Regions from separate parts of the Homo sapiens genome. Here regions 1 and 3 are each linked to region 2. Evidence: promoter capture Hi-C in 16 types of primary human blood cells and fetal thymus (Javierre and others, 2016). All regions are on one chromosome and are shown on one strand. Each heading gives the region's core, a stretch centred on a gene start or on the middle of the fragment in contact. The rest is flanking DNA. Distances are from core to core; before and after follow the strand shown. Region 1 overlaps PARP12 (poly(ADP-ribose) polymerase family member 12). Region 2 holds the start of CLEC2L (C-type lectin domain family 2 member L). Region 3 overlaps KDM7A (lysine demethylase 7A).

The links. Contacts are between HindIII fragments. The CHiCAGO score rates a contact against its expected background, and 5 or more counts as called.
Region 1: a fragment that was not itself captured here is called in contact with the fragment with the promoter of CLEC2L in region 2 in 1 of 17 cell types (monocytes); the score reaches 6.3 in monocytes.
Region 3: a fragment that was not itself captured here is called in contact with the fragment with the promoter of CLEC2L in region 2 in 1 of 17 cell types (monocytes); the score reaches 7.9 in monocytes.

Annotation. Positions count from the first base shown.
Region 1 is chr7:140,041,155-140,044,849 of GRCh38, reverse strand. PARP12 (poly(ADP-ribose) polymerase family member 12) reads left to right here. Exons shown (of 12, transcript NM_022750.4): 6 at 3,011-3,206. Among named protein-coding and RNA genes, the nearest start is that of PARP12, 20 kb to the left of the region's middle. The HindIII fragment of the contact is 4,259 bases long and covers 1-3,695 here.
Region 2 is chr7:139,522,212-139,525,796 of GRCh38, reverse strand. It overlaps CLEC2L (C-type lectin domain family 2 member L), which reads right to left and starts at 2,112. Exons shown (of 5, transcript NM_001080511.4): 1 at 1,680-2,112. The coding sequence starts at 1,869. The HindIII fragment of the contact is 20,495 bases long and covers 1-3,585 here.
Region 3 is chr7:140,125,144-140,128,649 of GRCh38, reverse strand. KDM7A (lysine demethylase 7A) reads left to right here. Exons shown (of 20, transcript NM_030647.2): 5 at 1,067-1,208; 6 at 1,827-2,013. Among named protein-coding and RNA genes, the nearest start is that of KDM7A, 50 kb to the left of the region's middle. RefSeq lists an enhancer at 2,784-3,284. The HindIII fragment of the contact is 2,661 bases long and covers 805-3,465 here.

The sequences.
Region 1 (3,695 bases), core at 796-3,295, 520 kb before region 2:
GTTGGAGGTTGCTTTAATGAGAGTCTGGAGGTAATTGTGTATTTTGTTAGTCTGAAAGGGTTTTTATTCCCTTCTCATTCTTGAAAGATAGTTTTACTGGGTATTTTCCCTCAGTTCTTCAAAGACTATTTCATTGTTGTCTGGATTCCATTGCTTCTACTTAGAAGTTAGCTATCAGCCTAAATCGAGGTGGTATTAGTTCACTTCTTAGGGCTGCTGTAACAAATTACCATGAACTTGATGGCTTCAAACAACAGAAATTTATTTTCTCGGTTCTGGAGGCTAGAAGTCCAAACTGAAGGTGTTAGCAGGGCCTTGCTCTGTCTGAAGGCTTTACAGGAGGATCCTTTCTTGCCTCCTCCAGGATTCTGATGCTTAGAAATCCTTGGCATGCCTTGGCTTGTAGACGCGTCACTCCAATCTCAGCCTCCATTGTCACAGGCATTTCCCCATGTGTCTGTGTTCAAATTTCCCTCGTCTTAAAAGGACATCAGTTTTGGATTAGGGCCCACCCGAATCCAATATGACCTCATCTTAACTTGATTATATCTGCAAAGACCCTATTTCCAAATAAGATCGCATTCATGGGTACCAGGGATTAGACCTTCAGCATATCTTCTTGGGGACACAATTCAATCCAGTATAATAGATAGTCTGTTTTTTTCTCTCTGGCTGTTTTTAATATCTTGTCATTCTTTGGTGCTGTGCAGTTTCACTAAAATCTGTGTGTGGATTTAAAAAAATTTATGCTACTCATATTTTGCTGTGCTTTCTGATTTCCTCAGCCATGATCTCCTTAAGTATTCCTTCTCTGGAATTCTCATTAGATATATGGTGAAGTCTTCTCACTTTATCTTTTATGTCTTCTAACTTCTCTTTTATTCTCTTTCTAAACTCTGCCACATTTCTTCCTCTCAGGCTCTCAGTTCATTAGTTCAGACTCTTCTGAGATGCAGTGTGTCCCATCGAAGTATGATTTTTAAATTTCAGTTAATTTAATTATGTTTAAAAGTTCTAAGGTCGGGAGCAGTGGCTCACGCGTGTAATCCCAGCACTTTGGGAGGCTGAGGAGGGCGGATGGCTTGAGGCCAGGAGTTCAAGACCAGCCTGGCCAACATGGTGAAACTCTGTCTGCACAAAAAAATACAAAAATTAGCTGGGCGTGGTGGTGCATGCCTGTAATCCCAGCTACTCCTCGGGAGGGTGAGACAGGAGAATCGCTTGAATCCGGGAGGCGGAGATCACGATGAGCTGAGATGATGCCACTGCACTCCAGCCTGGGTGACAGGGTGAGACTCTGTCTCAAAAAATAAAAAATTAAAAAAAAGTAGTAAAAAAGGAAAAGAAAAAAAGTTTTGGAGGGAGTGGAGGAGAAAGAAAAGAATAATGAATAGTAAAAGTTCTGTTTTTTTCCTTAAATTTACCCAGTCAGTTTTTATAGTCTCTTGATTCTTACTCATACTTTTGATGCTCAATTCCTTTTTAAAAAACATATCACGTATATCTGCATCTGAGAATACTAATGTTTATAGTTCAGGGTGGTCTGATTTTGTTTTTGTTAACTTTTGCTCATAGTGTCTTTGTTTCCACATTTTGTGATCGATTTTGAGCTCATGTTTGATTTGATGGAAATTTCTTTGGAAATTCTTTTTTTTTGAGATGGAGTCTCACTCTGTCGCCCAAGTTGGAGCGCAGTGGTGCGGTCTCAGCTCACTGCAAGCTCCGCCTCCTGGGTTCATGCCATTCTCCTGCCTCAGCCTCCTGAGTAGCTGGGACTACAGGTGCCCGCCACCACTCCCGGCTAGTTTTTGTATTTTTAGTAGAGACGGGGTTTCACTGTGTTAGCCAGGATGGTCTCGATCTCCTGACCTCATGATCCACCTGCCTTGGCCTCCCAAAGTGCTGGGATTACAGGCGTGAGCCACCATGCCCGGCCAAGAAATTCTTTTGAGGCCTGAGTTGAAGGTGAATTTCTCCAGAGGGGATGTGTGTTTGCTTCTCTGAGAACTGCTACCCTGGGTGGTCTTTGCAGCTAATTCTCCCAAAATGTGAATCAGTCTAAAACTTCTGTGAGGCTTGAGTGGTTTATGAGTTCTCAGAGGAATTTTTTCCTCCTTTATCCAGAACCAACATTAATACAGGCAGGTTTCCTTGCCAGATGTCTTTGCAAGGCAAGTCCCCTCTCCAGTCCCCCTTTACTAAGGTGGGTCATCTTTTAGGGTCCTGGTTTTACGCAGAGGTATCTCTTTTGAGATTCAGCCTCCTGCCGTACTCAGACCCTACATTTGTTTCCTGCTTCCCTTTTGCGGCCAAAGCCCAGGCTCTCTGTCGTTACTCATCGATACTGCCCTGGGATAGCTGCTGGCTCTCGCCCTCCTCTCCGCTCTCCAGTTTCGTACCTTCCTTTGGTCTTTAGGCAGTACTGCGTTTAGAAAGGGAGCGTGTCCTGGTGGCTCAGGTGCAGGCTGTGCAGCCCACCTGCCCACCTGAAAGCCCAGCTCGCCCGCTGACTAGCTGTTTGACCTTGAACAGGTTTCTTCACCTTCCTGAGCTTCTGTTTTCCCGTCTGTGAAGTGGAGATAATAGTCTCAACCTCATAGGGTTGTGAAAATGTCATCGCCTAATACATATAAAGTGCTTAATGCAGGGTCTGGCTCACACAGTAAACACTCAGTATATGTTAACTATTGTTATTTTTGGCTTCTGAGGACTTCCCTTTCTTGCCAGCTCAGCAGTGAATTTTAAAAAAGAATGATTTCACCAGCATCTTCGGCATTTTGTACTGAGAGGAATTTTCGTCATAACTAGTCTCCCACATTATCTTGATTTTGATATTTTTATACCTCAAAACTGATCTGAAAAAGCAGTTTCCTCTACCTCTGGGAACTTTTTCTAAAATGTGCATGCCACATTTACTATTCGCATCTCCCAGCTATATGTTCTCAAGCTGAGGGACCTGTGTCTGCTTGGCTGGTGGGATTTTCAGTCTGCTGCTGTTTTTCTTCTGTAGGATCCTGTGCTCTGAGTCAGCCAGTACCTTTCACTCTCATTGTCTGAACTTTAACGCCATGACTTACGGTGCTACCCAGGCTCGCCGCCTCTCCACGGCCTCCTCTGTCACCAAACCTCCACACTTCATCCTCACCACTGACTGGATTTGGTACTGGAGTGATGAGTTTGGTTCTTGGCAGGAATATGGAAGACAGGTAAGTGTGATGGAAAGAGGGTGAATGTTTTGTCCTGAGGATCTGTAAGAGAGGAGCCAAATAAGAGCCCCCATATTGTTGCCAGGGGCATCCTTGAGAGAGCTGAGGATCCCCAGGTGCCAGTGTGGCTCACTTGCTTTGGGAGAATTATGGCAAAACTAGATAAGTTGGAATTTATTTGTATGAGCTTTCATCTTTGAAGAGCTTCCATCTGTTGGCTCATGAGAACTGAATGACAAATTTGTAGTGAGATCAAGTTTCTTCATTGGTTTTATTAAATGGGATAGAAAGATGTTTCTCTTGTTGAACAGGTAACTTAACCCCACAGCTGGTGCCTATGTGTGCAAGTGTGTTTGTGTAGCTGTGATATAGAGGTAAAGGCTTTTCAAACTGGTTGTCTGCCATTTCTGCAACTTTACAGAAGGTAGGCAAATATAAGAAAATTGATTTATATCATGTATAGGTTTGGAATCCAAGCCAAATAACAAA
Region 2 (3,585 bases), core at 863-3,362:
AAGTCAGGGCAGGAGGTGGACAGGAACAGCAAGCAGGAGGCATTAAAGGGCCACAGCAGCCCAGAAGCAGCCCTACCATGGGGGCTGGGGTTAAGGTTAGGGCAGACCCTTCAGAAATGCTGACGAATAAATGAATGAAGAAATACAGGCAAGAGGAGGGAACAACTTCAAGAAATAGCTTTGGCAGGAGTGAAGCGTGGGAACACAGGGCCACTCCAACAGTAAAGCCGGAGACAGCGTCACGGGGGGGTGTCTGACCACCTCCATCCATTCCACACAACTCTTCACAACCCACAGCTCTGCTACAGCTCTTCTCCTTGGTGACGCAACATCTTCGCCTCCTCTGTCCCTGCCACTGTCTGGTGGTCCAGCTTCAGAGTCTGCACAGCCCTTCCTCGGACAGTGCACGTCCCCTGGCCCATAGCCTTTGTGCAGAAGGCTGGCATTACCATCCCCACCTCGCCATCCTCAGCAGCCCCATGACCTGCCTTGGCCCAGCTGCTGGTTATGTCCCTCCTGGTCCACTGCCCCACCCCCTCCCTGACCTCGAGCCTGGGTCCCACCCCTCTGGGCCACCACCAGTCTTCCAAGGGCAAGCCCACCATCTCCACCCCTCAGTAGCCCCTTCAGAACAAAGTCCAAGCTCCTGGGCAAGGCCTGGCTGGCCCTTCACCGTCTGGGTCCTTCAGGCCCGTCTCTCTCCACCCTGCCCCATCTCAGTACTCCAGGGCTCAGTTCCCACGTGGCACAGAGTAGCTCTGACCACCTGGCCTGGGATACGTCATGCTCTGGGTCTGGAACACCTTCCCCTCTGTCTCCACGCCTGCTAAGAGGTCACCTACTCCTGGGAAGCCCTCCTTTTCTGACACTGCCTCCCTAAGGATGGGTGATCCAGGCTCCAGGCTTCCCTAGTTAATGCTGCCCAGGTCCTCCTTGTCCTTGGATTCAGGGTGCCAGGAGCACCCTGAGAAGCACCCAAAGGGCCAGCCACCCTCTCACCAACTCCTGCATCTCCCACACCACACGCCGCCGGCGGTAGCTAATACAAGTTTCCTTAAAGAGCTCATGAACTTGAAATCAATTCTCTACTTGGGTTACTGCCCCGGAGGCAGGCCAGGGGTCCCTCCCTGAGGCAGTCTGATGGAGGAGTAGGTGTGACCCCTGACCTTGCAAGGAAGAGCCTCTCCTGGATTCTCCACCCCTGCCCTGCCCTGCCCTCCCCACATGCCCCACCACCACGGGGTCCCCGCGGCTCTCACAGGGGCGGGCACCACCTCTGGGGTCTCCAGCTTTCTTACTTTACTCGAAGCGTGTTCACGACCACAGATTCCGCCACCCTCTCAACACGCCTGTCTGGTGGGTGTCAGGCAGTGTTTGTCCCCTTCATGCGTGAGGAGACGAAGGCTCAGAGCGTGAAGCCCGCTCCAAGGTCAGAGAGGGAGTCGCAGCAGAGGCGGGGTCGAGGCTGTGACTCGCGGTGGCCCCCGGTTCCCTCCCACCCCACCCCACGAACCGGCGTCTGGCCGCCCTGAAATGAATGACTCCGCCGCGTCCCGGCGCCGCGCTCCCAGCGCTCCCCTCCGGGACAGCGGCCAAGGTGACTCTGACCGCCTCCGGGTCGCGGGTCGGGCCTGGGCAGGGGTCCCTGGGCCAGGAGAGGGAGGCCGCTCCGCGCTTACCCTCCAAGGCCGCCTTCCAGCTGGTGCTGCCCTCGTAGCCCGACCCGGATCGCCGCAGCAGCCCCTCGGGGCCGCGGGCCTCAGCCTCTGCGGGCGAACGCGGCCTGGGGGCGGCGGGGGCGGGCGCGGGGCGCGCGGCGAGGGGCGGCGGCGGCCGGGCCCGCGAGGGGGGCTCCCGGGCCGGCTCCATGCGGGGCGCTCCGCCGCGCCGCGCCCGCGCTCCTGCACCGGGGTGCGGGGCCCAGCCCGACGCGCACTCGGCGCTCCGCGCGCCCTGCGGGCCCCCCAGGCCGGCCTCGGGTGGGCTAGGACCGCGGCGCTGGCAGGCCGGGGCTGAGCCCGGCTCCCCGCGCTGGAGCCTCTGCGCCGGGTGCCGCCGCGGTGCGCTCAGCGCCTGCCCCGCCGAGCCGCAGCCTCCACGCACAGCCGGGCTGGGGAGGAGCGCGAGGCGGCGCGCGGGAGCCGGGAGCCGTGGACCCGGGCGGGGCGGGGCAGGGGCGGAGAGGGAGGAGGCGCGGAGGAGCGGGGACAGCCGGCTCCCCGACCCCGCCACCTGGGCTGGAGGCTGGATGCTGTCGAGCTGGGAGCGCAGTCTTGGAGCCGGGAGACCTGGTTCTAACTCAGCTCCATCTCCCCAGCCGCCTGCTCACCATCTGTGAAAATGGGAATAAAGTTCGCGGGGACAGTGCAGGGAGGCTCAGGGAAGATGAGCGCCTTTCTTCCCGGCTGCCCTGGAGCCACAGCAGAGGGTGGTAGGGGCTGTGACTTGACCCCCAAACTCTTGATAAAGGAGAGAAACGTCCGAACGATGAGCACAGAGACAGTAGAGTCTAAAGGAGCAAGCGAAGTGACGTTGCAGATTCAATTAACATTTATTGAGCACCTACTAAGCGCCAGGGACTTTCACATATTATTAGCTGACAATGCCCCCAGGTGAGGCTGAGAAGTGGAATTTTGAGGTCAAGGACATTTCCGAAGGCGGCGCCAGGCAGGTGCGTGCTTGGCGGGTGTCTGACTCCCAGGCCAGGGCTCCCTCCGGAGCCTTCACTGGCCCCTTGCCTCAGCTGACCTCGCGTCGCCTGAAGCCCCACGCCTCCAGCCCTGATCCTCTTCCCCCTCCACCATTCTCAGCCCCAACCTCTGGTTCCTGTCTCCATCTTCAGTTCCTCATCCCCAGCTCCTCCTGCTCCCTCCCCCAAATCCAATAGGCCACTGACTCTTGTGAATTCTCCCTTTTAAAATATTTTTATTTTTATTTTTTGAGACAGGGTCTCGTTCTGTAGCCCAGGCTGGAGTGCAGTGTCACTACAGCCTCGGCCTCCCAGGCTCAAGCGATCCTCCCACCTGGGTCTCCCAAAGTTCTAGGATTGCAGGCGTGAGCTGCCGTGCCCGGCCCCTTTTTTTTTTTTTTTTTTTTTTTGAGACGGAGTCTCGCTCTGTCGCCCAGGCTGGAGTGCAGTGGCGGGATCTCGGCTCACTGCAAGCTCCGCCTCCCGGGTTCACGCCATTCTCCTGCCTCAGCCTCCCAAGTAGCTGGGACTACAGGCGCCCGCCACTACGCCCGGCTAATTTTTTTGTATTTTTAGTAGAGACGGGGTTTCACCGTTTTAGCCGGGATGGTCTCGATCTCCTGACCTCGTGATCCGCCCGCCTCGGCCTCCCAAAGTGCTGGGATTACAGGCGTGAGCCACCGCGCCCGGCCGCCCGGCCCCTTTTAAACTCTTAGTCTGCGCATTGCACTCCATCCCTCTAGCCACTGGCCAAGTACAAGCCAATGCCTTCTCTTGCCCGACCACAGCAGCAGCCTTCTAAGGGGTCTCCCATCCTCCACTCTTGCTCCCTCCTATCCAGCCCCTCCCCCTCCACACCCGCAGCATCTACCTAAAGTGCAAACTCACCACTCCTT
Region 3 (3,506 bases), core at 886-3,385, 600 kb before region 2:
TAACTAAGTATTGTAACTTCACATTCAGCTAAATTTGAATATTTGACAAGTGAGAGGATGGGGCTAAGGATTAACCTGAACCTATTTGCGTAGATAGCATCTGCAAAACAAATAGCTAGTGTAATACATGTGCAGGAAAAAAATGCTCAAACTGCTTGATAGCTAACTTTTTGGTACTGCAGAGCACTTCAGTTAAATACTATGAGCAGAACCGTGTTGCCTCCTGATGATAAAGAAGTCTATAAGGCAAGACTTTCTTAACCTATATGAAGTTGCATTAAAGTAAGAAAATGGCATTTATTTGTTTTCTATTTCAGATTGGTTAAGTATTGCCATATTTTGAATTCTACCTTATCCCATAGTCCATTGTCAAACTAATTATGCTTCCTAGTGTAGCAGTGCAGTGGTCTGTAAACACCACTTCATGGGTTTATACGAAAACTGTAAATTAATCACAATTTGGAACTCAGGCCTTCGGACACTGGTACTAATGTGAACTGATTTTTGCTTCCCAATCACTAATTTTTTCTTAAAGGAGAATATTAGAAGACAGTATCAGGAGGGCAGAAATTATCCTGGTCAACTTGCATGCTAATTCCCCAATGAGTGATGTGTTTTTTTTTGAAATGATAGCCTTAGAATATTTTAGGTGTTACAAAAGTGAAAGGGAAAAGTCAGTCTCCTCATTTTATGCCTGAGAAAACTGAAATCCAGACAGTGTTGCACAATTTCTACATGCCAATATAATGTATTTTTTTGTCATTATGAGCTGTACACCAAGATATCATTAGTATACAGAAAGCTTTGTAAGCCATATACACTTTTATATTCAGTGTAAATTGTGCAGCTCTGTCTTACTGCTTTCCTTTTCCTCTGAAAAATGTCCCTTTTTTCCTGAAAGGTCCAGTTGAACTTGAGAAATTAAGAGTATAGGGAAAATATTTGTCTAGACTACATAGTTTTATAGTTGGTTTAATTATCATACCAAGTTAAAATATTTTTTGATTAGAGCATCTGCTGATGTAACTCTTAAGTCCAATAATAAGACTGTAATTTTTCTCTGCAGGTGGTGACAAAGTGATAGATGTCATTGATGTGGCGAGGCAGGCAGACAGCAAAATGACACTTCACAATTATGTTAAATACTTCATGAATCCTAACAGACCAAAAGTGTTAAATGTGATCAGCCTTGAATTTTCAGATACAAAGTGAGTAGTTCTGGGTATTTTGGTTTAGCATTCTGAGTGTTAGCTAAATGTAGTGTAATGATGTATTTATTTTAGGAAGAAACATAGTTGTGACTTCTAAAGTTGTCCAGTGGTAGCAATGTTATAAATTTTGCATTGGGACACTCAGAGATACTTAGAAATAAGATGTATTTTAAACTTTTGGCTGGGCACAGTGGCTTATGCCTTAATCCCAGCATTTTGGGAGGCCAAGGCGAGTGGATCGCTTGAGGCCAGGAGTTCAAAACCAGCCTGGCCAACATGGCGTAACCCCCTCTCTACTAAAAATACAAAAATCAGCTGGGCATGGTGGCACATGCCTGTAATCCCAGCTACTCAGAGAGGCTGAGGCACGAGATCTCTCGAACCCGGCAGGATGGAGTTTGCAGTGAGCCAGGATCGCGCCACTGCACTCTAGCCTAGGCGACAGAGCAAGACTCTGTCTCAAAAACAAACAAACATGTGTTTTAAACTTTTAAGTGTTGTTGTTAACCTTAAGTTCCATTTAATTATTTGGTTTGGGAATAGATGAGAAAAACAATTCTTAAGAATTTTTAATTTGCATGATGTGGGTGTGTGTGTATGTTTGTTTTTTGAAAGGATGTCTGAATTGGTGGAGGTCCCTGATATAGCCAAAAAACTTTCCTGGGTGGAAAATTATTGGCCAGATGATTCAGTCTTTCCCAAGCCATTTGTTCAGAAATATTGCTTAATGGGAGTTCAAGACAGCTATACAGATTTCCACATTGACTTCGGTGGAACTTCAGTCTGGTACCATGTCCTCTGGGTAAGATTGGGGTATTTTTTGTTCTCTCACTGACAAAAACATATAGCCCTAGTTTTTCAGTGGTATATTCATTTCTTGTAAATGTTACTTGTAAAGGGGGAAGTTTTTTTTTTTTTTTTTACTTTTTAACCAGGAACTGTCACTTTGCCTTTAAACGTTACGATTTTTTTTTTTAATCTCAAATAATGGAAGAGCCATGACTTTTAAATTTATATTAGATTTACTTTCTGCCCTCATCTTTTAAGTTGGTTTCTTTTAGGCTTTTGTCTCTTCTTGATTTTTTTTCCCCTAGTTAATTATCCTTTAATCCCTGAATTAAATATCTGTGAAGGAGCAAAATTACAGTAATAATTGCTTCTGGCCTTAATGTTGGGCTAGGATAGCTTGTTGGATAAGTCAGGAATGCCTATAAAAATACCAGTTCTTGGCTGGGTGTAGTGGCTTACACCTATAATCCCAGCGCTTTGAGAGGAGGCCAAGCTGGGAAAATTATTTGAGCCCAGGAGTTCAAGACCAGCCTGAGCAACATAGTGAGACCCTGTCTCTAAAAATAAAAATAAAAACATTAGCCAGGCATGGTGGCTCATTCCTGTAGTCACAGCTACTCAAGAGGCTCAGGCAGGAGGATCACTTGAGCCCAGGAAGTTGAGGCTACAGTGTGCTGTGATTGCACCACTGCATTCCAGCCTGGGCAACAGAGCGAGATCCTGTCTCTAAAAATAAAAATAAAAAAAGTAGCCAGGCATGGTGGCTCATGCTTGTAGTCACAGCTACTCAAGAGGCTGAGGCAGGAAGATCACTTGAGCCCAGGAAGTTGAGGCTGCAGTGTGCCGTGATCACTCCACTGCACTCCAGCCTGGGCAACAGAGCAAGAACCTGTCTCTAAAAGTAAAAATTAAAAAATTAGCCAGGTGTGGTGGCTCATGCCTGTAGTCGCAGCTACTCAAGAGGCTGAGGCAGGAGGATCACTTGAGCCCAGGAAGTTGAGGGCGCAGTGTGCTGTGATTGCACCATTGCACTCCAGCCTGGGCAACAGAGCGAGACCCTATCTCAAAAAAACAAAACAAAAGACCAGTTATTTGCAATTTATATTCACCTTGCTTTATCTAGAGCTGCATTGTTCAAAACAGTTGCCACTAGCCATGTGTGACTAAATTTAAATAATTAAAATGGAATGTAATTAAAAATTCAGTTCCTCGTTTATACTAGGCACATTTCAAGTGCTCAGTAGCCACATGTGGCTAATGGCTACTGTGTTGGTTAGCACAGATACAAAAAATTTCCATCAGCACAGAAAGTTGTATTGGAGAGTACTGATGTAGAAAGTCAGTCTTCATCTATATCAAATGCTTGTGCCTCAGCAATGTTCTGGGCTATATTTGTTGCTGGGTCCTTGGGTTCCTGTTTTTTTCCTTCATGAAGTAGCAAAGAATTAGTTTATTAAAGGAAGCTTATTTATAGGTTTTTAAAAATAATTATGCTGTGGATCTTAG